Regions from separate parts of the Homo sapiens genome. Here region 2 is linked to region 1. The links are contacts of gene promoters, found by promoter capture Hi-C in blood cells and fetal thymus (Javierre and others, 2016). All regions are on one chromosome and are shown on one strand. The core of a region is centred on a gene start or on the middle of the fragment in contact, and the rest is flanking DNA. Distances in the headings are between cores, read along the strand shown. Region 1 holds the start of IKBKE-AS1 (IKBKE antisense RNA 1). Region 2 overlaps C1orf116 (chromosome 1 open reading frame 116).

The links. The method cuts DNA at HindIII sites, captures the fragments that hold promoters and counts their contacts. A CHiCAGO score of 5 or more calls a contact.
Region 2: a contact is called between a fragment that was not itself captured here and the fragment with the promoter of IKBKE-AS1 in region 1, in 1 of 17 cell types (non-activated CD4 T cells). The highest score is 5.5, in non-activated CD4 T cells.

Annotation. Positions count from the first base shown.
Region 1 is chr1:206,496,376-206,499,075 of GRCh38, forward strand. It overlaps IKBKE-AS1 (IKBKE antisense RNA 1), which reads right to left and starts at 1,353. Exons shown (of 2, transcript NR_172918.1): 1 at 1,219-1,353. It overlaps IKBKE (inhibitor of nuclear factor kappa B kinase subunit epsilon), which reads left to right. Exons shown (of 22, transcript NM_014002.4): 22 at 1-514. RefSeq lists an enhancer at 1,298-1,447. The HindIII fragment of the contact is 9,082 bases long and covers 1-2,700 here.
Region 2 is chr1:207,027,636-207,030,335 of GRCh38, forward strand. It overlaps C1orf116 (chromosome 1 open reading frame 116), which reads right to left. Exons shown (of 4, transcript NM_023938.6): 2 at 1-44. Among named protein-coding and RNA genes, the nearest start is that of C1orf116, 3.8 kb to the right of the region's middle. The HindIII fragment of the contact is 2,120 bases long and covers 272-2,391 here.

The DNA of each region.
Region 1 (2,700 bases), core at 103-2,602:
TGTGGCAGCAACTGCCTGGCTGACCTTTCTATCTTCTCTAGGCTCAGGTACTGCTCCTCCATGCCCATGGCTGGGCCGTGGGGAGAAGAAGCTCTCATACGCCTTCCCACTCCCTCTGGTTTATAGGACTTCACTCCCTAGCCAACAGGAGAGGAGGCCTCCTGGGGTTTCCCCAGGGCAGTAGGTCAAACGACCTCATCACAGTCTTCCTTCCTCTTCAAGCGTTTCATGTTGAACACAGCTCTCTCCGCTCCCTTGTGATTTCTGAGGGTCACCACTGCCAGCCTCAGGCAACATAGAGAGCCTCCTGTTCTTTCTATGCTTGGTCTGACTGAGCCTAAAGTTGAGAAAATGGGTGGCCAAGGCCAGTGCCAGTGTCTTGGGGCCCCTTTGGCTCTCCCTCACTCTCTGAGGCTCCAGCTGGTCCTGGGACATGCAGCCAGGACTGTGAGTCTGGGCAGGTCCAAGGCCTGCACCTTCAAGAAGTGGAATAAATGTGGCCTTTGCTTCTGTTTCTGGTGGCTCTCCCTGGGCTGTGTCTGCAAGGCAGGGCTCTCAGCTGGGTGTGCTTGGCAACCAAGTGGGGTCTGGGCGGGGATCTGTGAGAAGTGCTGGGAAATGGGGGTGGGAATTGGTCATGTCCTGATTTCTGCCTTTCCCCTAAATGGGCCCTAATTTCAAGGAAGAACCCAAGGGGTGCCTTCCCATTCCTTCCATTCTCTTGCCCCCGCATCATTTGGAAAGCTGTGTGAGGGGCCTGGAACTTAGGGAGAAAGGTATTCTTCTTTTTTTTTTTCCTTCAAACCCACCATCTAAGTGGCTACTGCTTTTTTCCCATCTCCACAGCTATTCAAAACCTAGGCTATGTCCTAAATAGTGGGTTTGAATAGTATTATGGGTTATTTTAAGCATTCCTTCATTTTGTCTAGAATCTAGAGTGGTGCCTGGGCAAGGCATTCTGACTTTTGCAAACTGCTTGCAAATTTACCTCCAGCCTTCCCATAAACCAGAGCTGGACTACCCACCTACCTGGGTGGGTGAAGGAAGGGGAAGGGGAAATGCAGTAAGGTAGCCCCAGTAGGAGAGAGAGACGAGTGGGAAGCCCCACTGTGTGCTTCGAAGCGTGAAGACAGCATTATGCTTGACTGGAAATAACCCCAGAGATCCTTCCTGTCCATCTTCATGGGAGCCCCCACATCCTGAGGCCACTCTACTCACCTGGTAGGGCCAGAAATGGGGAAGGGTGAGTCCTGGAGGCTTCTGTCCTCTGTGGTGCTTCTCTGTGCAAAGACCAGCACTCTAAAGGCCTGGGGGAAGGTGGCTGGAGGTTGTTTCCTTGCATCAGGTCCAAGTGGCTTTGTGTTTGTTATTTGGGCCTCAAGCCCGTGGAGTCACTTAAGCCCAGGGGTTCAAGTCCTGGGGCCTCAGAGACCAGCTGCCGCCTTGATGTTCCTGGGTACTAGACCACCTCTCGTCCACTCTGCTGGCCTGAATTTCTGGCCAACACTTCCAGCCCATGAGTGGCCCTTCAGGGAAGTCCCACAATGGGTTTTCCCTGGCAGCAACAGCTTGCAAAACCCCATGTGCTTGGTGGAGCTCAGTGAAGGAGCCAGGGGATCCCTGAATGCCAAATACAGATTTTTGGGAGATGATATGATCCAGGCTGTATGATCTCATGAGCAAAGCCTATGAGATGTGGCGGACAAACTCACTCAAAGGCTTCAGTTCAGTTGTTTTTTTTTTTTAATTTTCCTTCTTTTTTTTTTTTTGGCAGGGTTTTGCTCTGTTGCCCAGGTTGCAGTGGAATGGTATAATCTTGGCTCACTACAGCCTCGACTCACTGTAGTGATCAAGCGATCACCACTACTACTCACTGTAGGACCAAGCAATCCTCCTGCCTCAGCCTTCCAAGTAGCTGGGACTACAGGCGTGCACCACCACACCCAGCTAATTTTATATTTTTTGTAGAGATGAGGTCTCACTATGTTGCACAAGCTGGTCTTGAACTCCTGAGCTCAAGCAACCCTCCTTTCTTGGCCTCCCAAAGTGTTAGGATTACAGGCGTGAGCCACCACGCCCAGTGGCTTCAGTTCATTTCTATGCAAGGCAGAGCTGCTGACATCAGTGCCTCCCTGGATCTGAGGTTCTGCAGAGCTGCTGATTCCATCTCAGTAGGAAATGAGGAACTGGACCAAGACCCAGAACAACCCATAAGATCCTCAGGTGTCTGAAGACCTCTTTAATGTACCTCTCCATTCTCTGCAGTGATTCCTAACATAACACTTAAAATGAAAAGAGCCCATTCAGTTCACCAGACATGATCTGAGCCCTTACAGTGTACCAGGCCCACGGGATGCTGGAACTACAGAGGTGACTAAGCCACCTTTCTGGCTCATGGGGAGCTCACCTCTATGGGGGAAGACAGGTATGCCACAGATAGCTTCCCATCATGGAGGAGGTGCTATGCTAGGAATGCAAACATCCAGTGTGGTCCTGAGTCACCATCCTCACAGGGGAGGGTGCTTAGGTCAGGCTGGGAAACTTCCTAAGTGTCAGGGAGTGACTGAGAACAGGTGAATCCAAAGTGGTCTTAGCAGGTGAGCAGGTGATACCTAGCAAAGAAGGTGTGGGAGGCATTCCTGGCCGTGGGAGCAGCAGTGGCACAGGCATGGGAAGAGCTACTAGTATTTCTATATGACT
Region 2 (2,700 bases), core at 82-2,581, 530 kb after region 1:
CTAGAGGGGAAGCGAGGGGAAGTGAACAATGTCCCAAGCCGGGCCTGAAAAGAGAAGAATCAAAGCCACACATGAGCCGAGGCTTCGGCAAGGCTCTGCCCAGGCCCTGGGCGGCATGGCGGGAAGGACACCAAGCAAGCAGAGAGCTGGAAGGGGGGCATGAACAGCCACTGCCCGACACCCCCGGCCTGCATGGAAGGACCCTGAAGCTGGCTTAAATACATGCAGAAGGACAGACTTAGTTGGTGGAGAGGCAGTCTAGTCAGAAAGAAGCTTCTACTACTTCTCTTACATTTTTCTCTGAACCAAGGAGCTTAATCTACATTTTCATTACTATAAGCAATAAATATTACAGGCGTCAATACCTTGGGTTCTGGAGTTAGTTGGGTCTGGGCTCAAATCCCAGTTTAGCCATTTACAGTTATGTGACTTGGGGCAAATTACTCTGAGTCTGTTTTTCCTCATTAAATAATGTTAGTATAAGGATTAAATGAGAGAACAGTTAGCACAGTTTAGTTGGTAGTAAATACCCTAAGACCTCATGAGTCAATAATTAACTATTATTGTTCTTGTAACAAGAAAAAGACAAGATCTATCTAGGATCAAACTAAATTGAAACAAGAGAAACAGGATCTCAGAAAAGAAGGGTTCTGGTTTGATGGGAGACTGTAGACTTGAGAGAAGAAACAGGTCCCTTAATAATACCTACCTCATGGGGTTATTGTGAGAACGTTTAAAACACTTTGCACAGAGCAAATTGTCACCTGCTATCACAGTCAATATCATCAACATCATCACAACCACCGCTACGATACCCATCTTTAACTCCCTAGCCTGGAGGCATGAACAGGGCACCTGCAGTGGTTGACACAAACCTATTTTCTTTCTAGTGAATCTCTTTCTTTCTAGTGCCTCTGTTGTTGCACACATTCCCAATGAGATTCCCTAGCCTATGTCAAATGAACAAGAGAAATGTCCCATGTAGCTTCCTCCCAACTCTAATTCCTTAGGGAAAAAAAGTTTCAATGTCATTGTAACAATAGTAGTAGCAAAGGAAGGCAGTGCCATCTTCCCTCTGAAAGTCCCAAGGATTTTGATGTGGCTGTTTGTGGGAAATACTCCACTGGAGATGGCAGGCCAGAAGTGAGTCTGCTATGTTAAAATGAAATTCTAAAAGAATTAAGATGAAAAGACAGTTCCAAGATCAAACAGAGAGTTGGAGGAGAGCCAGAATTAGAATAAAGTTTGTCTGATTCTAAATCCATATTTTCCTTATAATGCCATCCTATATTTTCTTTCATCTTTCCAACCCTCCCAACACTAGGTAAAATGTCCTAGAAGAAAACGTGATCTATTTGAGATCTGGAGGCTTGGGCTTTGGATGCCAGGGCAGATGTCCTCTTGGCCTCTGGTAATAATTGCTTCCAGTGCCAAAGTCAAGTTTGGGCTGGGTTGGGTGAGTCAGCTTTCCATCCCTATAGAGCTGGCAAGTATGGAGCCCCAAGGAGCTCCTCTTCTGCTTGGGAGGAGTCTCTTAAAAGGGGCAGGTATGGAGGGGCAGAACACTGGGGGGAAAACAGGAGAGATCCCTAGTGAGCCAGACATCTGGTTCATAGGGGTCCAGATCCTCCTAGGAGATAAGGAGGGGACTGGAGGGGCAGAGACACCAAAGAAGCCCAATGATAAATAAATGTGGGGTGAGGAAGCTCTTAGGGTTTCTTCATGAGGTTAGCTCCCCAATACCCAGAAGCTCAAAGAAACAGGAACATGAGAAATCATGTGGATGAAGTTCAGTCATCTCAGCTACCCACTCCATGAATGATGCCCAAGTTCAGGGAGGACTAACCCATTCCTAACATTGTGTAGGGTTGAGGCCACTATAGCAAAGGAGCTCCATCTCTGTGAGTCTAGGCACACAGAAAACACTCAAAAAATGCCGAATGAATGAACTTGCCATCTGTTCTAGGGTCTATTAGGTTGAGCTTTTGGAAGGCTTCTTCTTGGTTTCTAACCTATAACTGTCAGCTTTTACTTAAATACTTAATTTCCTGGATAATATATGGCTCAGTGAAATTTGGGCAATGTTTTCAGTTAAACTAACATTTATGAGCACCTAATAATAGGCGCTGGTGTTACAAAACTGTATAAGACAAAGGCATTGTTGTCAAAAAGTCAATGTAGATCTAAGGGTCTAGTTTTGGGCTCCAATTTTCTTCTCTGTAAAATCAGGGCAGTAAATATTTAAAGTGACTCACTGTAATTAACATCATATTCTCTATGAATGGGTGAGCAGATGCTGCCTCTTACTTTCAGAGAAAATTACTACCCTTGTGCTTCTAAGTATGCTTTAGACTTTACAGAGGTTTTCTAGTCTCTCTTTCCTACCAGGGAAGCTTATCACACTTTTGTTTCAGAACCTAGGATGTCTTCAAGTAGCTGGAAGAGATAAAAGTGGTAGGAAAAGCACTGCTTCACAAGAACACAGCATGCCATAGCTTGCAAAGTACTCTCAGATATGCTAATTCGATCTTCAGCATAAACTGGAAACATAGGCAGGATGTGACGTTTTCTTCATTTTACGGGTGAGAAAGTTATGGCTCTTACCACTAGCCCTTCCTAAGGGAAACAGGGAATGACCTATACATGCATATACAGGGCAGCCCTCCACAGGGCATTTCAGGGACTATCTGGATGCAAGAG